Linked DNA regions of Homo sapiens: region 2 is linked to region 1. The links are contacts of gene promoters, found by promoter capture Hi-C in blood cells and fetal thymus (Javierre and others, 2016). All regions are on one chromosome and are shown on one strand. The core of a region is centred on a gene start or on the middle of the fragment in contact, and the rest is flanking DNA. Distances in the headings are between cores, read along the strand shown.

Region 1 (6,584 bases), core at 1,497-3,996:
TGCATGTCTCTTTCTTGCATGCCAAATAACACCTATGGCATTTATCTTGATGTACCTGAAGTGAAAATACAAGTATAGTAAAAATATGACATATTAGGAAACAAAAAAACTGTGGGGAATATGGATAAAAACAACAACATCTCTTTTTTACCTTTGGAATGCTCAGTGGCAATTGGAAAAATTAATATATATAAATTTTCTTTTAAGAAAGAACATAACACATTCAGATTTTTTTTTTTCCTGGCAGATAAACGACAAAGTTTGTATGTTCACCCTCATAACATTTTGATCATTTGAACTTGTGACCTCTCTACTGGAACTGTATTGAACTTCACCTAAAGGTTGGTTGAGAAGTGTTATGAGACTGTTTATTACATAATGTGGGTTTCTGGGGAAAGCTGGGTAGACTTCCAAAGCTGGTCTAAAAATGGCTTGAGAGCCCAGATAAGCAACTTGCTTGGTGTGTTATGGTTGATAAGGTGTGGGGATGGGTTAGAGGAAGCTTTGTGTGGTTTGAACGTCCATCTAGTGACAAAGGAGGAAGCACTCAAGCATGACCAGTTTGACCAAATGGGCAGAACAGAAGTGCAGAGCTGTAAAAGCGTTAGTAGTACAACATCACAAAATGGAGACTGACGCTAGTACACTGAATTATTTACTCTGGAAAGTTCTGAATTCTTGGTTTGGGAAGACCCCAGTTTTCTTTTTTGTTTGTTTGTTTTGTTTTGTTTTTTGAGACGGAGGCTTGCTCTGTCACCGGGGCTGGAATGCAGTGGCGTGATCTCGGCTCACTGCAACCTCCACCTCCCAGGTTCAAGTGATTCTCCTGCCTCAGCCTCCCAAGTAGCTGGGACTACAGGCATGTGCCACCACGCCTGGCTAATTTTTGTATTTTTAGTAGAGACAGTTTCACCATGTTGGCCAGGCTGGTCTCGAACTCCTGACCTCAAGTGATCCACCCGCCTCTGCCTCCCAAAGTGCTGGGATTACAGGTGTGAGCCACCACGCCCTGCCCTAGTTTTCTTGATAGTAATATTCTACATTTATTCTTCCGCTGTACCCATAGGACTCATTAAAAATAACACAACTGTTGAAAATGTTTTTGAAATCCTGTTTAGTTATAATGCCTAAGATGTTTTTATACTAACTCAGTGAAAATCTGTGGAAAAGTTTCTTACATAATAAATATGATTAAGCAGTTTTACTGGAAGGGCATTTCTCCAAAGGCTATGGAAATGTTATTTTCAGTTTATGGTATTGAGCAATATATTTCATGGTTTATGTTCAATTGTAGTAAAATTACTTTTTATTTTTTAATATGATTTTCCCTTTTATTTTTTTCTTTCATATATTGTAACCCAGATGAAACGTTTAATATTTTGTTAAAGTGAAAACTATACGGTGTATATAAATAAGGGTGTTGTTTGGAGATAAAATTGTGTGACATGAAAATGTACATAAGACAATAGCAGGTATAAACTAGGTTCTCTATAAACATGAAAAAAGGGTATCCCTGTGAGTCTTTAGTTCAGTCAATGTACTGGGATGGTACGTTAGAAATACTGGAAAACTATTCTTTAGGCGAAAATAAATCCAATTGTCATGTGGTGACTATTTTCCACACTCTGTTATCCACATCTGATAGAACATTAAGAAACAGAAAACAAAAAAATAGACCCAATATAGATTACAATTTTAAAATAAAAAGTACTGTGTCAAGTTCCCTTCAGAATGCCCATAAAGTGAATTTGAAATTACATGATATTTAGAAATTATTGATTTAAGCATATTTTGATGCAAAGAAAGATTATGTCAAAGTTGTTTGTGGTTAAGTCATTTCAAGTGTGGAACGGAATAACGAATATAAGCAAAAATAATGCAGTTTATCTCTATTTTTTAAAAATTCACATGGTTTAAATCAGTAGTTGACTGGGCACAGTAGTTCACTCCTGTAATCCCAGCAATTTTGGAGGCCCAGGCAGGAGGATTGCTTGAGGTCAAGAGTTGGAGACCAGCCTGGGCCGAGACTCCCATCTTTACAAAAATATATGTTTTAAAGAACAATAAAGCAGCCCTTGGTGATCTAACTTATCGGCCTTAACCTTCCCATGAATTGAGCACAGGCTTGACTCTTCCACTGGGGAGAATGGGGATTTGAAATGTAAAGGAGGTTCTGTTGGGCTACTGCATTAAATTGCATATCCGTCCAGGTAGGATGCTGCATTTCCCATTCTACTTTGAATCATCCTCAGAGATAATTTCCAGACATTTTAGTTAAATTAAATACATTTTAATTGCAGGAATTGCTGGATCCAATCGCCGTGCCTCGTGGATCCTCCACTAAGATCCCAGTTCCCAGACCGAGATCCCCGATTCCCAGATCCCCGTTCCTGAGCTGCAGCAGACTCCCTAGCAGGACTGGGTCCAACCCGCCGGCAAACAATTTTAACATAAACCGTTTTCAACTTGGTAAGAGGAAATCATTTTGGTTTCTATCATAAGTGGTCCACGTAAGTCTATTCTTTCACCTTAAAACTGCTTCAAATTGGAACGGTGCTCCCGGGGACATAGTGAACACTCCAGCGTTTCTAAACCGGGAAAAATGAGACTGCGGGCTAGGCAGGCTGAGGGAAGCGCAGACCCCGCCCCAGCTCCGCCCCAGCGTTTCGTCCGCAGACCCCGCCTCTCCCCAGGCCCCGCCCCCAGAGTGCCCGGGCTCTTTTCCGCGCACGCGCAGTTTTCTGCAGTTCCGGAAGCGGATCGTGTTGGGTGCGGGTGACGCCGCCGAGCGTGAGTGTCCCTCAGTATGGATTAAACTTGCGAACCGCCGTGCCCCGTTTCCGCAGCCAGTTCCCGGGCTCGCTACAGACCTTTTTTTTTTTCTTTTTTTTTTTTTTTGGTGAGACGGAGATTTACTCTTGTTGTCCAGGCTGGAGTGCAATGGCGCGATTTCGGCTCACCGCATCCTCCGCCTCCCAGGTTCAAGCGATTCTCCTGCCTCAGCCTCCCGAGTAGCTGGGATTACAGGCATGTGCCACCACGCCCGGCTAATTTTGTATTTTTAGTAGAGACGGGGTTTCACCGTGTTGCCCAGGCTGATCTCGAACTCCTGACCTCAGGTAATCCGCCCGCCTCGGCCTCCCAAAGTGCTGGGGTTACAAGCGTGAGCCACTGCGCCCGGCAGCTACAGACCTTAAGATCCCCGCACCGCGCCCTCCACCCCAGCTGACTCGCGGTGTGGGTTCGGAGTCGCTTCTCTTTGGGTTGAAGTAGCTCTGAGGCTTCTCCCTGTCCCCGGCCTTTCGCGTCTTCCTCCCGCTTAAAACCCTTTCCTGACCCCTCCTCCCGCCCCGGGCTTTTTAAAGTCCTCGCCCGCGAGGTGGATTCCCGCCCTGGGTGCCTCCCAGCCTCGCCCTCGTCGGCCCCTGGAGCGCAGCTCCTCAGCCCCGGTACCGGCGAGGCCGCGTCCTCTGCCTGGTCCTGGCATCCTGCAGACCCCACCCCTCTTCTAAGGCGCCGTCGCCCCGCCACCTCCCTCCTCCTCGTGCCGGGCCCTGCTGCTCCCCAGGCCTCCCCTTCGCAGTCCCCGCTTCTCCTGAGCCCGCGCTGGGGAGGTGCCCGGGGCCTGTCCTGTGACACCCGGTGTTCTTGCCTGCCCAGCTCCAGCCCCTGGAAAATGCGCTCCTCCAAGATGCAGGCGTCTTAGTCCAAACCTTCCTGTGAATGTGTGGACCAAGGGGATTAGCAGGTAGAGAAAGGGGCAGAGACAGAGAGAGAAGTAGAAAAACTGAGAGGAAAGAGTGAGGGAAACCCGTAACCAGATGGCAAAGTAGAGGATGGGCGAGGGATTTGCAGATGGTAAGAGAAGGAGCTGAGAAGGCAGAAGGAGAAAAGCAACTGGGGAAATGTAGAGAAAAGCTCGATGTCCAGAGACATGAAGGACAGCAAGGTAGGGAGAGGGCCAGAAAGTGGGAGGCTCCTCAGACAGAGTCCGGGAGAGGAGGAGGGATTTGGAGCCAGGGCAGACAAGCAGCGTGGTGCTGGGACAGCAAGAGGGGACAGCCGGTGACGAGGAGAGCAGAAGGAGAACCACAGCAGGGGGAGGCCTGGGATCTGGGGGTGCCAGAGAGTGGGGCAAGAGGTGTAGAAGGGAAGAGGAGATTCAACAGAGGGAGCAGAGATGGGAGAAGAAAGAGGCAGAAATATATGGAGACTGGGGACAATGAAAAGACTGGGGAGAAAGAGGAATCAGAGTTGAAACAAGGCCCCAGAATGGGACAGAACAGGTGCAAGCGGAGGAAGAAGGGGAGAAATAGCAGGAGATGAGAGGGGCTCAGAACGACGCGCAAAGAACCAGGGGAAAAACACAGAAAATAAAAAATAAGCTAATGTGAGAATGAGAGCTATGTAGAGGATGAGGGAGGGAAACACACAGTATGGAAGCAAGAGAGGGACCCTGAGTCCAGGTGAGTGGTGCGTTGATTAGATGTGATGATGACATTGTGACATTGGTTTCTGGGTTTAAAATAATGCAACACATTTAAAATACGTTTACTTAAATTATGCAGTTGCAAATGAGAATGGAAGAAACTCCTTTATGTAAAATGCGTAACACGTGCATTTGACAATTATTAGTATTAGGGTATAGCTTCATTTGCAATCACTATTCAAACCAGAGGGCAGTGACTTCGCTCATTTAGTTTTGAGTCCACCCACTTCCCTTTTCCTGGAATAGGGTAGGGTGTGGGCGAGTGTATGAACTAAGAGGAAAAAATATTTTTCCTTTGATTTTCTTTCCTGTCACACTCAATACAACAGGGCACATTCTACACAGTGTCTCGCCTCCACTCACGAAAATGTGTGCGGATTTCTCCCACCAACAACCCGTTCTCTATCAGACACTAACTGAGTGTCGTATAGTTTAACTCAATTCTGAAACTCTCTACCTGGAGTTAGCATCAGATCCCACTGATTGAGGCTCAGTTCCACGAAATTGCCCCCGCATCAGGTGCCAGTTGTAAGTCTCCCGTTGGTACCTGAACTTCTGAGCGACCAGCTATACACTGGGGATTCCCTTGACATCCCCCTCCCCACCACCTCAGGTTCTATTAATTTGTGAGGGCGGCTCAAAGAACTCAGGGAAAACACTTCACTTAGTTTACACATTTGTTATGAAGGATATTACAGAAGATACAGATGAACAGTCAGAAGGAAGAGCTGTCCTAGAAAGTTAATCAAAGCCGAGGAGGGGTTAAGAGAACCACAGTATTTATCAGGTCACTCAAAAGTATAAGTGACAGTTACCACTGGCATACTGTGTCTGAAGTGAGGGGCAGTTTTAGACTGAGCTCTGAACCTGTAGCACCTCGTCATGCAGTCTTTTTTTTTTTTTCTTTTTGAAACAGTCTCGCTCTGTTGTCCAGGCTGGAGTGCAGTGGCGCAATCTTGGCTCAAGGCAGCCTCTGCCTCCCGAGTTCAAGCGATTCTCCTGCCTGCCTCAGCCTCCCAAGTAGCTGGGATTACAGGTGTGCACCACCACATCCAGCTAATTTTTGTATTTTTAGTAGAGACGAGGTTTTGCCATGTTGGCCATGCTGGTCTCTAACTCCTGGCCTCAAGTGATCCTCCTGCCTTGGCCTCCCAAAGTGCTGGGACTACAGGCATGAGCCACTGTGCCCGGCCCATGCTGTCTTGTAGATAATATCAGAGTTGAATGAAATTGTAGGACCCCCGCCTAACCCCCCCCCCCCCCCGAGCTGGGAGTCCCCTGGGAGTCCCCTGGTCATTGTGGGAAAAGCCACACACACATTTTGGTGACTAGAGGTGAAGTATTCTGTGTTTAGTGTGAGAGCAGAATGTAGAGTTGGGTTTTTTCCTATCTCAAAGACTAAAGGAAAAGACCTCCAAGTGGCCCACCCACCTGTCAGGACCTGTGATCTCTACTCAGTAGTGACTGGGAATGGCCTGTTCCTGCTTCTGGCTGCTGCTGGCCCTGCAATTGTGTACCATGTACCAGCCTCACTCACAGTCTCAGGACAATATGCGTGCCATCAATTTTAACTTTTTTTTTCCTTCACAATCTGTAAAGCTTTCAAAATTTTAACTTCAAGGGAATTCATCCCTGTACCTAGGGAGTGGTGTTCTCCATTAAGACACGTACACAGGGCTGGGCACAGCGGCTTACACCTGTAATCACAACACTTTCAGAGGCCAAGGTGGGAGGATTGCTTGAGTCCAGGAGTTCGAGACCAGCCTGGGCAACATAGCAAGACTCCGTCTCTACGAAAAATAGAAAAAAATAAGCTGGATGTGGTGGCTTGCACCTGCGCTCCCAGCTACTTGCAAGGCTGAGGTGAGAGAATCGCTTGAACACGAGAGCTTGAGGCTGCAGTAAGCCATGTTCATGCTGTCACACTCTAGCCTGGGCAACAGAGTGAGACCCTGTCTCAAAAACAAAAAACAAACACACACACACACACACACACACACACACACACACACACAGAATAAAGTCTTTTTTTCTTCTACGCTCCATCTTTAAAACAAAAAATACTCTAAATTGGCCAGGCACGGTGGCTGACGGC
Region 2 (6,716 bases), core at 3,493-5,992, 1.0 Mb after region 1:
CAGTGAACAGAAGTGTCATGAGACTGTCATGAGATCCTTGCTTGCAACTGAAAGTTATGTTTGGGCTTTTTTTTTTAAAAAAAAATGTTAGAGGAAGTGGAGGTGAATATTTTGTGTGGGCAAAAGAGGAACAAATTATTTCTGATGGAAGCTGCGCTGTCACATATTGTAATATTTCGAGACAGGGTCTCGCTCAGTCACCCAGGCTGGAGTGCAGTGGTGCGATCTCAGCTCACTGCAACCTCCACCTCCTGGACTCAGGTGATCCTCTTCTCTCAGCCTCCCAAGTAGCTGGGACTACAGGTGCACACCAGCATACCTAGCTAATTTTTGGATTTTTTTGTAGAGATGGGGTTTCGCCATGTTGCCCAGACTGGGAGAAACATATTTTAAGGTATAATTAGCATGTTGTGTTGTTAAAATCTCAGTGATAAACTTGCATATTAGCAACAGAGCTCTTGTTTCCACATTATACAATTTCAGTTTATTTTCTTGTATCATTCCAATGCTTTCCCTGAACTTAAAATAAAAGGGATCCTCCACATATTGGTGGAACACATTCTTTGCATCTGTTATTTTTCTATTCTTTTTTTGCCACACAAATCTGAGAATGTCACCTCGATTTTTGGATCCTTCAAGTTCTTCAATGGAAGAAATGTAAGTCCATAAATTGGGTTAAATGGTTTCTAGTGGAGTGTGTAATGATAAAAAATTATTTTTAAAATGTAGTTTTGGCTGGGCTCTGTGGCTCATGCCTGTATTCCTAGCACTTTGGGAGGCTGAGGTGGACAGATTGAGCCCAGAAGTTTGAGACCGGCCTAGGCAACATTATAAAACCCCATCTCTACTAAAAACACAAAAACTGAGGTGAGAGGATCACTTGAGCCTGGGGAGGTGGAGGCTGCATGAGCCGTGATTGCACCACCACACTGCAGCCTGGGCAAGAGAGCAAGATCCCATCTCAAAAAAAATTATATTACAGTTGAAAAATCATAGAATACAATGTTTAATATGATAACTCAAATATGCATTGTTAGAGCCTTTGAAAAATGCAATTTTATTAAATTATTTAATATTTATTGTCTGATAAATTTAATTTTTATAGTGCATGTGTAAAAATATTATAGACAATTTGAACAGTATTTCAGAAGCACTTTCAACAATTATATTGTGTAAAGTGTCCTATGTATGCATGAATAAAGGACATGTATAAAGTATTTAGCATGAGGAAAATTGAGTCTTTCTCAACCTAGGCATCATAAGTTTCAGGAGTAAACATTCAGTATTTTTTTTTGTATTTTTTAAAACCAGAACATTTATTGCATGACTAATCATAGACATTCTTAAGATGAACTGGATGCTGCAACAGCTGCCCTCTTGGGTTTAAGTATTGTTCCTTCATAGAATCCATGCCTGAATCTGTGGTATACAATTTTTAGGTGCCTCATTCCACCAGTTCCGGTGGTATTTTGTCTTTTAGCCTTGGCACTCCAGTTATACTTTCTCTTGCGCTTGGCAGCGTAGCCACATTTGCCACAGGTCGACTTCTGAAGGTGGTAGGCCTTAGAGCCACGGCGGCAACACAACGTGTGCGTCTTATTGCGACGCTTTCCAAACAATGACGTTCCCTTCGTCATCTGGCTTCTGCGGCCAAGACCAGAGAGACCGGAAGAGAAGGCACTTCCGCTATATCACGCTCAGAAGCTCAACATTCCGTGTTGAATTAGAGTCTGAGCCGAGATGGCATTACTGCACTACTGCTTGGGTGACCGGAGCCAGACACTGCCTCAAAAAAAAAAATTCTCCCAGGCTCAAGCAATTTCCAACCTCAGCCTTCCAACTAGCTTGGACTACTGGTGCACACCATTACCCTTGGCTAATTTTTGTATTTTTTGTAGAGATAGAGTTTTGTAATGTTGCCCAGGTTGCTCTTGAACTCCTGGGTTCAAGCAATCTGCCCACCTCAGCCTCTCTCAATGTGCTGGGATTACAGGCGTGAGCCACTGCACCCTGCCTTGTTCCTTTACTTGCTTAGTAAACTTGCTTTCACTTTACAGTGTGAACTCACCCCTAATTCTTTCTTGCATGAGATCCAAGAACCCTCCCTTTTGGTTGTAACTGCCCAACAGGTTCTCCTTCCCTGCTGCCTAGACAGAGCTGATTCATCAAGACAGGGGAATTGCAAGAGAGAGTTTAATTCATGTGGAGCTGGCTGTACAGGAACCTGAAATTTTTTTATTACTCACATGAGTCTCCCTGAAAACTCGGGGATCAGGGTTTTTAAGGATAATTTGATAGGTAGGTGTCAGTGAGTCGGGAGTGCTGATTGGTTGGGTAGGAGACGAAATCATAGAGATCTGAAGCTGTCATTTTGCACTGAGTCAGTTCCTGGGTGGGGTCACAAGACCAGATGAGCCAGTTTATGGATCTGGGTTGGTGTCAGGTGATCCATCAAGTGCAGGGAATGCAAAATATCTCAAGCACTGATCTTAGGTTTTATAATAGTAATGTTATCCCCAGGAACAATCTGGGAAGGGTGAGAATCTTGTAGCCTCCAGCTACATGACTCCTAAACCATCATCTCTCACCTTGTGCCTAATTTGTTAGTCTTACAAAGGCAGTCTAGTCCCCAAGCAGGAAGGGGGTTTGTTTTGGGAAAGGGCTGTTAATGTCTTTGTTTCAAACTATAAACTAAGTTCCTTCCAAAGTTAGTTCAGCCTATGCCCAGGAATGAACAAGAGCAGCTTGGAGGTTAAAAGCAAGATGGAGTTGATTAGGTCAGATCTCTTTCACTGTAATAATTTTCTCAGTTATAATTGTGCAATGGAAGTTTCAGGTTCTGGATCAGGACCCCTTTCTGGTAACACAAGGATGGTTATGAATGCATCCAGATATCCAAAAAGTTATCTCTGAAAGCCAGAGATTTCCTTTCCCTATGGGTTCTTCCCTTGCATGTCAACCCAAGGATTCACTGGGGACCTAGAATTGTGCAGGGCAGTTAGGAAGAGAGAGACAAAAGAGAGAAGAGGTGAAGTAGTTTTGAAGAAGAGAAAGAAGGTCCCATGCAGCCTCAGTTTTTTTTCCAACAAACTTTTCATGCTGGGAAATAGGATCCTGGTTTATTTGTGGGAGGGATTTTATAGGAGGGTGAGAAAAAAATGCCCTTTGAGGGTAGAGTCTGTGGAGCCCTAATTGGGGAAAAGGAGTCAGCCTGAAAGGACCAGGAGAAAGCAAAGAGATAAAGCAAATAAGCTATAAATCTTTCTTCATGGTCCAGAACATATAAAAAAAAATAGAGGAAGCAGATAAGCTGTAGGTCTCTTTTTCTTTATGGCCAAGGACATATGGCCTTTCTGTGGAAAGAACGTAAATAAGTCACAAACTTTCTGCTTTCATTTATCATCAAACGCCTCAGCTAACAGAAGAATGCAAGTTAGCTCCCTGCTACCTTGGCCTCCCAAAGTGTGGGGATTATAGGCGTTAGCCACTGCACCCAACCAAATCTCCTCTTCTCATGGCTCACTGCAGCCTTCACCTCCTGGGCTCAAATGATCCTCCTTCCTTACCCTTCCGAGTTGCTGGGCCCACACGTGCAGGCCACCATGTCCAGATAATTTAATTTTTTGTAGAGAGGTCTGGCTATGTTGCCCAGGATGATCTCAAATCCCTGGCCTCAAGCAATTCTGACACCTCAGCTTCCCAAGTAGCTGGGACTACAAGAGTGCATTACCAAGCCTGGCTACTTTTTGTATTTCTTGTAGAGATGGGGGTCTCACGATGCTGTCCAGGCTGGTTTTGAACTCTTGAGCTCAAGTGACCTGCCCACCTGGGCCTCCAAAACTGCTGGCCCATCTCAAAAGACTTAATCCATTTCAGTATCAACTCTCAAAAGTCTTAATCCATTCCTGTATCAGCTCTTAGGGCAGAATACCCCCTAAATATTATCTGAACCACACATGGGTGAGAATCAAGGTGTGATTCATCCTGAGGCAAAATTTCTGCCCAGCTGTGAATCTGTGAGGCCAGAGAAGTTATCTGCTTCCAAAATATAATGGTGATAAAGGCATAGGATACATCCCCCAGCCCTGGTAACCACCCTTCTAATCTGTTACTGTAAATTTGACGTTTGTACTTTGCACGTGTAAAAGCACAGGCAGTATTTGTCTTTCTGTGTCTAGCATATTTCGCTTGGCATAATGTCTTCCGGGTTCCTGGATCCAGCCACGGCTCCACATCAAATCCCCAGCGAGATCCTAGTTCCCTGACTATTGAGTAGCTTCAGCATCATCGGCAAGAGTGGATGGAGTCCACCAAGCTTGTAAAAATCGGTTTTGACTTAGTTCAACTTGTTAAGAAATCATCTTAGTTTCTAATATAAGTGGACCACAACTTTAAGCTTTAACCTTAAATTTTGAAACATTAACTTAAAATAGGCAGGCAGCAACGCTGCTTCACAGGACAAGAAGTAGTCAGAAAACCAAAGACATGCTGCCTGTGAACCAGAGTAAATAACAGGCTCTATTTCGGCCCCGCTTACCCCATGAAACCCCGCCCCATCCTCCGCCGCGGCTCCGTCCCGCCCCACCTAGCCACGCCCACTGCCGCTCCGGCCCGGCTCCACCCTCTCAGGGTCCCTCCCCGAGTCAGGCCCCTCTTTCCGACCCGCCCCTTGCTGGTCGCGGCTCGCCCAGGCCCCGCCCCCTGGCCTCCCAGTTTTTTCTCTCCGCTAGCAGTTTCCGTCACTCCCGGAAGCAGATTGCGCCAGGGAAAGGCCTTATCGCTGTGTGTGTGTTTCAGTCTACGTGGATTAAACATTACTTCGCTCCGTCTGCCTGGATTAAACGTGCACTTTGCAGTCCTCACTTCTCCGTACCAGTGATCTGGGGATCGCTACGGACCTTAAAATACCCATAGCCCCTTCGCCCCTGCAACAGGCACTTCTCCCCACGTAAGTCCGAGAATTGCTTCCCTGTCGGTTTAAAATCTCTCTCAGGCTGTTCCTTGCCCCCTGCCTTTCTGCCATGTAGATAACCATGTCGATAACCCCATTCAGGTCGTGTTCCTGCTTAAAACTCTCATTGACCCCTGCTTCGGCCCCGGGCGAAGTCAAGTCCTCCCTCGCGAGGTGGATTCCCACCAGTCGAGACCCCCGAGCTTCGCCCTTGTCGACGCCTGGAGGGGAGCGCCCGCTGCCCAGCTCCTGAAGGAGCCGCTTCTTCTCCCAGGTCCTGGGATTCTGCAGACCCTCCCTGTCCTGAGACACCGTCCCCCGCGCCACCTAGTGTCCTCCGCGCGCCACCTAGTGTCCTCCTCACGCCGGGTCCTTCCCCTCCCCAGGCTGCCCCTTCACAGCCACTGCTTTTCCTGACTCCGCGTTGCAGGAGGTCACCCGAGTCTGTCTTGTGACACCCACTGTCGTTCCTTCCCAAATTTTTACTCCACTGGAAAATGTGCTCTTCCGGGAGGTGGGCATCGTATTCCTCCCCTTTCCTCCTGAATGTGTGGGTGAGAGGGATCAGGAGAGGAAAAGAGGGGGAGCGACGGGACAGAAAGAAAAACTGGGGAGAAAAGAATGAGTACACGGCAAAATGGATGATAATTTAGGTACTGGCAAAGAGAGCAAGAGTGCAAGAGGACGCATGGAGAAAGTAGCACGGGGAGAAAAGCACATAAAGAAATTAGGGAAAAGGGAGAGCTTCAGGGAGCTGAAGGGCAGCAAAATAGAGAGGGGCGGCAAAGGAGGAGGCACTGCAGTCAGACGCGGGGGGCGGAAAAGGTAAGAGTCGGAGCCGCGGCTGACAGAGCCACGTGGTGCTGGGACTGAAGGAGAGGGGAGTGGGTAACAAAGGAGAGTAGAGGGAGAACCACAGCAAGGAGGAAGCCTAGGAAGTTGGGGGTGCTAGAGAGTGGGAACAAAGGAGATGTAACAGGGAAAAGGGAATTTAACAGGGAAGAGGGATTTTAACAGGGAGAGCAGACAGGGAGCTCAGATGGGGGAAAAGAGGCAGGAATACGTGGCGGCTGGGGACAATGGGAAAGTTTGGGGAGAAAGAGCAACAAGAGGTGAAATAAATTTCGAAGCATTGGGCAGAATAGACATAAAAGAGGGAATAAAGAAAGGGGAGAAAAACAGCAAAGGGAAAAAAGACGTGCAGAATGAGAGCGGGAAACACATAGTAGTGAAGAGAGTGGGCGAGGACCCCACCCAGATGAGCTGTGAGTTGATTGGATATGGATGGTGGTTTTAATGTATTGATTTGTGACTTTATACTCTAATTTAAAATTTGTTTCTTTAAATTGTACTCATGAGGATGAAAATTACCACTCTTTTCTACAAGGCTTGTGCATTTTGTATTTGTTTATATCAAAAGATATTTGGAATCCCTATTTAGCCACAGGGCAGTGACTTGATTCAGTCATTTTGTAACTCTTCTTTCCAGGGAGGGAGTAGAGGATGGAGGAGGAGAGAAATAGGCAAGAAATGACTGACTGTCACTACAAGATGTATCTTTGGTTTTTTGTTTGTTTTTTCTCTTTTTGAGACAGGGTCTCTGTCGCCCAGGCTGGAGTGCGGTAAAATTATATCGGCTCACTGCAGCCTCTCAGCTGCACTCCATCCTCCTCAGCCCCTGAAGGTGCTGGGATTACATGTGTGAACCACCTCTACAGGCCTACAATGTATGTCTTTGAAGGAGAGTTGAGAGTGTTGGTTTTTT

Evidence for each region. Contacts are between HindIII fragments. The CHiCAGO score rates a contact against its expected background, and 5 or more counts as called.
Region 2: a contact is called between the fragment with the promoter of ZNF616 here and the fragment with the promoter of ZNF347 in region 1, in 14 of 17 cell types (naive CD8 T cells, total CD4 T cells, total CD8 T cells and 11 more). The highest score is 17.6, in naive CD8 T cells.

The regions. Positions count from the first base shown.
Region 1 is chr19:53,155,215-53,161,798 of GRCh38, reverse strand. It overlaps ZNF347 (zinc finger protein 347), which reads left to right and starts at 2,746. Exons shown (of 5, transcript NM_032584.3): 1 at 2,746-2,790. RefSeq lists a silencer at 2,564-2,813 and an enhancer at 2,549-2,843. The HindIII fragment of the contact is 5,586 bases long and covers 505-6,090 here.
Region 2 is chr19:52,137,964-52,144,679 of GRCh38, reverse strand. It overlaps ZNF616 (zinc finger protein 616), which reads left to right and starts at 4,742. Exons shown (of 4, transcript NM_178523.5): 1 at 4,742-4,948. It also overlaps the pseudogene RPL37P23. RefSeq lists silencers at 4,447-4,496, 4,507-4,786 and an enhancer at 4,907-5,146. The HindIII fragment of the contact is 2,387 bases long and covers 4,399-6,716 here.